Regions from separate parts of the Homo sapiens genome. Here all the other regions are linked to region 3. Evidence: promoter capture Hi-C in 16 types of primary human blood cells and fetal thymus (Javierre and others, 2016). All regions are on one chromosome and are shown on one strand. The core of a region is centred on a gene start or on the middle of the fragment in contact, and the rest is flanking DNA. Distances in the headings are between cores, read along the strand shown.

The links. Contacts are between HindIII fragments. The CHiCAGO score rates a contact against its expected background, and 5 or more counts as called.
Region 1: the fragment with the promoter of UEVLD here is called in contact with the fragment with the promoter of LDHC in region 3 in 1 of 17 cell types (neutrophils); the score reaches 5.0 in neutrophils.
Region 2: a fragment that was not itself captured here is called in contact with the fragment with the promoter of LDHC in region 3 in 2 of 17 cell types (monocytes and M2 macrophages); the score reaches 5.5 in monocytes.

Annotation. Positions count from the first base shown.
Region 1 is chr11:18,587,400-18,590,099 of GRCh38, forward strand. It overlaps UEVLD (UEV and lactate/malate dehyrogenase domains), which reads right to left and starts at 1,335. Exons shown (of 12, transcript NM_001040697.4): 1 at 1,214-1,335. The coding sequence starts at 1,255. It overlaps LOC112268073 (a long non-coding RNA gene), which reads right to left. Exons shown (of 4, transcript XR_002957242.2): 4 at 2,694-2,700. RefSeq lists enhancers at 383-492, 893-1,042, 1,083-1,142, 1,203-1,497, 1,403-1,452. The HindIII fragment of the contact is 11,919 bases long and covers 1-2,700 here.
Region 2 is chr11:18,241,330-18,244,029 of GRCh38, forward strand. All of the region lies in intron 3 of SAA2-SAA4 (SAA2-SAA4 readthrough), which reads right to left. It also overlaps a transcript of SAA2 not described here. Among named protein-coding and RNA genes, the nearest start is that of SAA4, 5.9 kb to the left of the region's middle. RefSeq lists an enhancer at 2,453-2,700 and a silencer at 2,473-2,700. The HindIII fragment of the contact is 1,216 bases long and covers 750-1,965 here.
Region 3 is chr11:18,411,054-18,413,753 of GRCh38, forward strand. It overlaps LDHC (lactate dehydrogenase C), which reads left to right and starts at 1,265. Exons shown (of 8, transcript NM_017448.5): 1 at 1,265-1,355; 2 at 1,656-1,790. The coding sequence starts at 1,665. The HindIII fragment of the contact is 7,298 bases long and covers 1-2,700 here.

The sequences.
Region 1 (2,700 bases), core at 85-2,584, 180 kb after region 3:
CTTCAAAACCTCCCACGGGTATGTAAACTGCCCCAACAAAGAAAGAGGCAAGTATAACAAAAATGGCATAAACTATGGTTTCTGCATTAGGAAGTCTTAAGAAGCATTAAGAATTATTTAAGGCCGGGTGCGGTGGTTCATACCTGTAATTCCACCACTTTGGGAGGCTCAGGCGAGTGGATCACTTGAGGTCAAGAGTTCGAGACCAGACTGGCCAACATGGTGAAAACCCATCTCTACTAAAATACAAAAATTAGCCAGGCATGGTGGCACGCGCCTGTAGTCCCAGCTACTTGGGAGGCTGAGGCACGAGAATCGGCTTGAACCCGGGAGGTGGAGGTTGCAGTGAGCCTAGATCGCACCACTGCACTCCAGCCTGGGGGACAGAGCAAGACTCTGTCAAAAAAAAAAACACAAAAAACAAAAAACCACCTTAACTAGGAAACTGGTGAAAACTAGTCTTCTTAACTAGAAAATTGGCGGGGATTCCCTCAGATTGTACACCGGAAACTCAGGCTAGTCAGGTCTCAGAAATATAGGTCAGATTTCTAGGTCGGCCCGCCTACTCCCCAGCCTTCCAACATTAAGATCTCTCCAGGGCCTTCAAGCTCTGTCTTCATCTCTAAATCTACTCAGGTCTTTCATTCACTGCACAGTTACTTAGTACCTATGGTGTTGTCAAACATAGTGGCTAGAGGAAGGGAATACAAAAGCACAATGTCTGCAGTCAAAGGGGCTCACAGCAAGATTACGGTTTGTAAATACATAATTACTCCACAATGTGATAATCGATATCTTTCAAAACAGAAGGGTTGATTCAATCTTACAGGGAGTGACTGAGTTGGGTCTTACAAAGGATGAGCTTTGCAATTCAAGAAAAAAGAAAAAAAAGGCAGACCATTTCAGCAGAGAGAAAGAGAGAAAGGCGTGGTTAGGCGTGTGCTGGGAGCTGTTTGAGGTCAGTGAAGCTGGGGGTATGAGGAGGGCTCGCACCAGGTGGAGGTTGGGAAACCTCAGAGTTGCGGGAGAAATCAGAATCCAGGTCCCCTCAGCCTCCCTGGGGCCGCGCCCCATAGCCGGTTTCAGACCAGCCGCCCCGGCTCCAAGCCCCACTACAAGCCGGGAAACGCAAAACGGAGGCAACCTGGCCAAAGGCAGAGGCACCCCCCGCAAGACCCTGAGGACCCAAACTGGCCCAGCGGACTGCCCGCACCTTGCCAAGCAGCCGTCTCAGGCCCTCGCAGTCGAACTCCATCTCCAGGCCGGTCCCGAGCTAGGTCCCAGGACTCCAGCCCCCGGACCTTCTTCCGGACTTGCTGCAGGACGGAAGCCGCTGAGGACCAAACTTCCCGGCGGTCCAAGGCCCCGCCCCTTCCCAGACTGGAAATTCCACCCGCATTCAACGCCCCGGGCTCAGCCGCGGCTGCGCCCGGAATCCGGGGCCTCTCCTTCGTGACCCCGGAGTGGGCAAGTGACGAGGGCACGGCCAGAAACGCATTGGCGTCAAGGAAACCACGACCCATCTTCCTGGAAGGAAACTTGGGGACACTTATGAAGAGAAGACTAGGAAGGACCGGAGTAGAAGCACTAAAGGAGGTAGAGGCAACACGCGGTGTTCTTGAAGAGTTTCCAGACAGATGTATTAAATTCCACAGTGTATCAGGAAAGAGCAAGACCGAAAATTGCAGTTGAATTTAGGAAGGAGGCGGTAATGGAACTTCAGAAGCAAAATTTCAGGGAGTAGAAAGGAAAAACAAAGTCAGGAGGAGCCTTGCCGGAGAAGCGGAGATAGGACAGCCCCAGCATGAGGGTGGCTTAGCACGGGGAGAGTGGTTGCTTTTTTTATTTTTTTTAGGGGTGCCATAACAATGTTGGTGGTCAAAGAGAGGAGAAATCCAGGTGAACAAATAGTTGGAAAACAAGAGAGGAGGGAGATGGGTGGATAAGGTCATCTGGAGAAGGTGGGTGAAGAAGAGATGCAGGATACAGTAATTTTCTGGCGTTGTTTGATCTCCTTGGCCCATGGCTGACTTACCTGCCCTGTATCCCTGGCCTGAGCCACTGAAGCGAAAAGTCCCAGGAGCTGGATATTGTAATTGTCAAGAGGTTGGACATATAGGAGAGAGATTGTATTTATAGGAAGATCTGAAGGGAGTGCTGCCCTGACTCAGGAGAAGAAGCTGAAAAGCTGGAAGGAACATTCATTCAGAAAGTTTTTGTTGAGCATCTACTACTTGCCAGCTATTTTTCCAGGTCTCAGGATACAGCCGTGAACAAAATACACTCAGATAGCTGATGTCTTAAGGGTGTCATTCCTTTATTAGCAGAGAGAGAGCAAAACAATAAATGTAATAAGTAAATTATTCAGCATGTCAGAAGGTTGATTACGTGTTGTGGAGAATAAATTCTGAAAAGGGTAGGGAGATTGGGGTAGGTCTCACTGAGGGGTGAGGGAGTAAGTGTTACGAATCCGAGTGCAGACAAAGCAGTAGCCTAAGGCATGTGCCCAGGGAGGCTCAACACAGCAAGGAGGCCAGTGTGGCTGGAGTAGAATGAAGTAAGATGGGAGTGGAGACAAGGAGGCTAAGTCAGGGAAATAAGACGGGGGAACAAGTGGTTTAGAGAAGTGAGTCTTCTAGTGTGAGCCCCAGATCTGCAGCCTCAGGTGCTGGGAGTTGTTAGAAATGCAGATGCTAAGAC
Region 2 (2,700 bases), core at 108-2,607, 170 kb before region 3:
TTCCCAGAGAACTAAAAATAGAGCTACCATTTGACCCAGCAGTCCCATTACTGGGTACTACCCAAAGGAAAATAGATCATTATATAAAAAATATACCTGAATGCATGTATTTATCACAACACTATTATTCACAGTAGCAAAAATATGGGATTAACCTAAGTGTCTTAGGTTAATCAACGAATGATTGGAGGGGTGTGTGTGTATGTCTGTATACACATATATACACCATAGAATACTATTCAGCCATTAAAAAGAATGAAATCGTATCTTTTGCTGCAACATAGATAGAACTAGAGGCCATTATCTTAAGTGAAATAACCCAGAAAGTCAAATATCACATTTTCGCACTTATAAATGGGAGCTAAATAATGTGTACACATGGACATAGAAAGTGGAATAATGGACACTGGAGACTCAGAAAGATGGAGGGCAGAAGGGGGCCGAGGATTGAGAAATTACCTGACAGGTACAATGAACTCTACTTGGGTGATGGTTACACTAAGAACCCAGATTTCACCATTATGCAATCTATCAGTGTAACAAATCTGTACTTGTACCCCCTAAATCTATAAATAAATAAATGAATGAATATTTTAAATAACAATAATAAATGCTGAATGAACACATGGAAGCACATTTCTGAACGTTTGAAATAATTCCTAATTCAATGACATGTTTAAAAATAACAAGCAGCTCAATTTGCATGTAGCATGAGGCACATTAATTAGTCATAGGAGATAAGACTGAAAAGCTTGGATACCCTATTAGTCAGGGTTCTTGAGAGACACAGGACAAATAATTTATTTGTGTATGTATGTATGTATTTATTTATTGTAAGGAATTGGCTCACAAGATAATTGGGGCTGAGAAGTCCCACGATCTGCCCTCTGCAAGCTAGAAACTCAGGAAAGTGTAATTCAGTCTGAGTTCAAAGGCCTGAGAACCAGAGCAACTGATCACGTAAATCCAATTTGAGGGCAAGAGAAGATGAGAGGAGATGTCCAACTCAAGCAGTGAGGCAGGGGAAAAGGGAGGCAAATCTGTCCTTCCTCTATTTTTGTTCTATTCAAGCCTTCAACAGATTGGGTGATGCCCAGTTGCATTGAGAATAGCAATCTACTTTATTAAGTCCAATTCAAATGTTAATCTCCTCTGGAAACACCCTCACAGACGACCCCAGAAACAATGTGAATCTGGGCAGCCTCAAACCGACACAAAAATAAATATAACAGTAGGCTGGGCTCAGTGACTCATGCCTGTAATCCCAGCACTTTGGGAGGCTGAGGCAGGCAGATCACTTGAGCCCAGGAGTTCAAGACCAGCCTGGGTGACACGGCGAAACCCCATCTCTACAAAAAATATAAAAATTAGGCAAGTGTCATGGCGCACATCTGCAGTCCCAGTTATTCAAGAGGCTGAAGTGGGAGGATCTCTTGAGCCCCGGGAGGTCGAGGTTGCAGTGAGCCATGATCATGCCATGGCACTTCAGCCTGGATGAAAGAGGGAGATGCTGTCTCAAATAACGAAACAAAACAAAACACAACTATAACAAAGAGCAATGCAATTTCCCTTTCTCAAACTTTTCTAACAGAGAGAAGCATGTTAATTCTTACTGAGGAAAACCAAGTAATTAATAAAAGGTATTTGGGTGTGCCAGAGCATAGGTATTAGGTGTGACTTTACAAATTATAAATTCCTGGGTAAACCAAGCACCTTTTTCCTTGGATACAAATTTCGATTTAAAAATTTTTTTCTTGTTTTTTTTATACTTTTTCTTCCTCTGAACCTATGGACTATATTGAATTAAATTTTTTTTCAAATTATAGATTTCAAGAAGGGGAGTGATTTGGTCCTTTACAGACGGATGAATGAATTTCTGTATCCAAATGTTGCTTCAGTTAATTATTTCTAGTAATAATATGTTGATTGCAAAGTTTTGAATATCTACAAAGACTAGACTTTGAAAGCTTGCTTTATTTGACTTTGAAAGCCATTCTTTCTCTCATCCTCCCTTTCTCTCCCTCCTGCCCCCCAAAATCTACAACTTCAGTACTTGTGACAGAAATCTAATTGTAAGCATTTACAATTGCTATTGTAATAATAGCATTACAGTCTTTTTTTACAACTTGGGGTCAACTCAGACTTTACTAGACTGAACACTAATCTCAACAGTGCATTGAGTCTGCTCCCATGAGCCAATCTTCCACGCCTCTCTCCATCTTATTTATCTTGCCCTTGCCTTGTTTTGGCATTGGCACATCTTTGAGACTCAGACTCAAACCTCCTATACCTCCTATACCTACACTTCTATTAGTGTCTTTTGATGAGAACTGTATGAGAAAGTTCTGTTGTAAATAGTTCTACTTTATATCCATACATTTTCTTCCTCCTTGACAAATAAATTTGTCTTTACTCTGTAAATATAATTTTATAACTAGTCTTCTCACCTTAGGAGTCCTCCTCAATCCTTTTTCAGAGAAAAGGGGTATGCCAGTTATCAGTTTCTTTATTTTCAGCTCCACACCCACCCCTTTGTCCTATTTGTGATGCTGGAGCTGGACCCTGTGAACATTTCTCCTTTGCCAGTTGGGCATGATGTTAATCTTCACCCATAGAGGGCGCTAGAGGGCCAAGCAGGAGATGAAGACATCTTTTCCTGTTCTTTTGTGCTTTGCTTCCTTTCAGCTCCTGCAGTACTCT
Region 3 (2,700 bases), core at 15-2,514:
ATCTGAACCATATTGAAAACAAATACTGACTGGGTGCGGTGGTTCACGCCTGTAATCCCAGCACTTTGGGAGGCCGAGGTGGGTGGATCACTTGAGGTCAAGAGTTCGAGACCAGCCTGGCCAGCAAGGTGAAATACAAAAAAATACAAAAAAATTTGCCCGGCGGCTGGGCACGGTGGCTCAGCACGGTGGCTCACGCCTGTAATCCCAACACTTTGGGAGGGCGGATCACTAGGTCAGGAGTTGGAGACCATTCTGACCAACATGGTGAAACCCCATCTCTACTAAAAATACAAAAATTAGCCGGGCGTGGTGGCGCACGCCTGTAGTCCCAGTTACTTGGGAGGCTGAGGCAGGAGAATTGCTTGAACCCAGGCGGCGGAGGTTGCAGTGAACTGAGATTGTGCCACTGCACTCCAGCCTGGGCGACAGAGTGAGACTCTGTCTCAAAAACAACAACAATAACAACACTACAGGCTATTATAAGAAAAATAAATTATATTTTGGATTTTGAAAAAGGTTCAAATGCAAATACTCTACAAAAGATGGAGTAGGTTGTGTCCCCTTCTGTGAGATATATATCTCTCTCACAAAAAAAAAAATATATATGTAAATTTTTTTTGAGATGGAGTTTCTCTCTTGTTGCCCAGTCTGGAGTGCAGTGGCGCGATCTTGGCTCACTGCAACCTCCGCCTCCTGGGTTCAAGCGATTCTCCTGCCTCAGCCTCCCAAGTAGCTGGGACTACAGGCATGCACCACCATGCCCGACTAATTTTATATTTTTAGTAGAGACGGGGTTTCGCCATGTTGGCCAGGCTGTTCTCAAACTCCTGACCTCAGGTGATCCACCTGCCTCGGACTCCCAAAGTGCTGGGATTACAGGTGTGAGCCACCGCGTCCGGCCATGAGTTATAAATATTAACAATTTCTTGCTGTAAATTGAAAGCATCCTTCGCGTCTTTGCGTTTCATTACCACCCTCTGTTCTCTCAAGAGAAATTCTAACTTTATTTCAGCACTCAGTCCTGAAGTTACAGAAGTTAATAATTTTTTAAAATCCTGCAAACAATGCATGGATATCCCCGTCTTGCACACTCTTTGGGCCAGTCTAGAATTCTTCCCATCAGCATTTCGGTGATCTGGACCGCCGCCACCCACACTGCGCTCCAGGGCAGAAAAGACGCCCCATGCCCGCGCCTGGGCCGGCGGGGGGCGGAGCTTGCGTGCTGACGCATAAGAGCCGAGCGGGGGAACGTGCGTGTCTCGAGTCGCACGGAGGGCAACCGTCGACGGGCTTAGCGCCTCAACTGTCGTTGGTGTATTTTTCTGGTGTCACTTCTGTGCCTTCCTTCAAAGGTGGTGCTTTGTCCCTGTGGGTCATCTGTACTGATTGCGCCAAGCAAAGCATTTGTGAGCGTGTGGTGCTGGGGTGAAAGTGGTGGCTGGGGGCAGGGAGAAATCCAAAAGCCCGCTGGTGCCCCAGCCCTCCCATTGCCTGGTAGACTGGGCCTTGCTTTACCCTCCCCGCATCCTTTGACCAGGAAATTCTTTCTTTGGCTTCCCCCCATCCCCGGCTCCAACATTCTGCAAACTGAAGAGGTAGTTTCTTAGATGTTCAGTGTGGTTAATCCAATGAAATTGCATTATCCCTATCAGGTTCTCCAAATGTCAACTGTCAAGGAGCAGCTAATTGAGAAGCTAATTGAGGATGATGAAAACTCCCAGTGTAAAATTACTATTGTTGGAACTGGTGCCGTAGGCATGGCTTGTGCTATTAGTATCTTACTGAAGGTGAGTGAGAAGCCCATCCTGTGGCTGAAAATCAAGTGAGCACTTCAGAGTGTTGTATATGTCGATGTATTCAGGGTTGCAAGGTTAATCCCTTGAAAGCAATTATGTATCCTTTGACCTTTCCTCCCTCCCTCCCTCCCTCCCTTCCTTCCTTCCTTCCTTCCTTTTTCTTTCTCTCTTTCTTTTCCTTTTTTTTTAAACTTCTTCTTTCTTTTCCTTTCTTTTTTTTTCTGACTTTCCTTTTCTTTTTCTTTTTTTGAGACAGGATTTGTCTGTTACCCAGGTTGGAGTGCAGTGGCGCGATCTTGGCCCACTGCAACCTCCACCTCCCGGGATCAAGCGATTCTCCTGCCTCAGCCTCTTGAATAACTGGGGCCACAGGCATGCACCACCAGGCCTGGCTAATTTTTTATATTTTTAGTAGAGATGGGGTTTCTCCATGTTGGCCAGGCTGGTTTCGAACTCCTGACCTCAAGTGATCCGCCTGCCTCGGCCTCCCAGAGTACTGGGATTACAGGCATGAGCCACCACACCTGGCTGCCAATAGGTATTGTTTTTAACCCTTGTGCCCTCCTCCCTCTCTGCTTTTGGAGTCCCCAGTGTTTATTGTTCTCTCTTTTTTTTTTTTTTTTTTTTTTGAGACGGAGTCTCGCTCTGTTGCCAGGCTGGAGTGCAGCGGCAGGATCTCGGCTCCCGGCAACCTTTGCCTCCCGGGTTCAAGCAGTTCTCCTGCCTCAGCCTCCTGAGTAGCTGGGACTACAGGCATGTGCCACCACGCCCAGCTAATTTTTATATTTTTAGTAGAGACGGGGTTTCATCATGTTGGCCAGGATGGCCTTGATTTCTTGACCTCGTGATCCGCCTGCCTCAGCCTCCCAAAGTGCTGGGATTACAGGCATGAGCCACCACG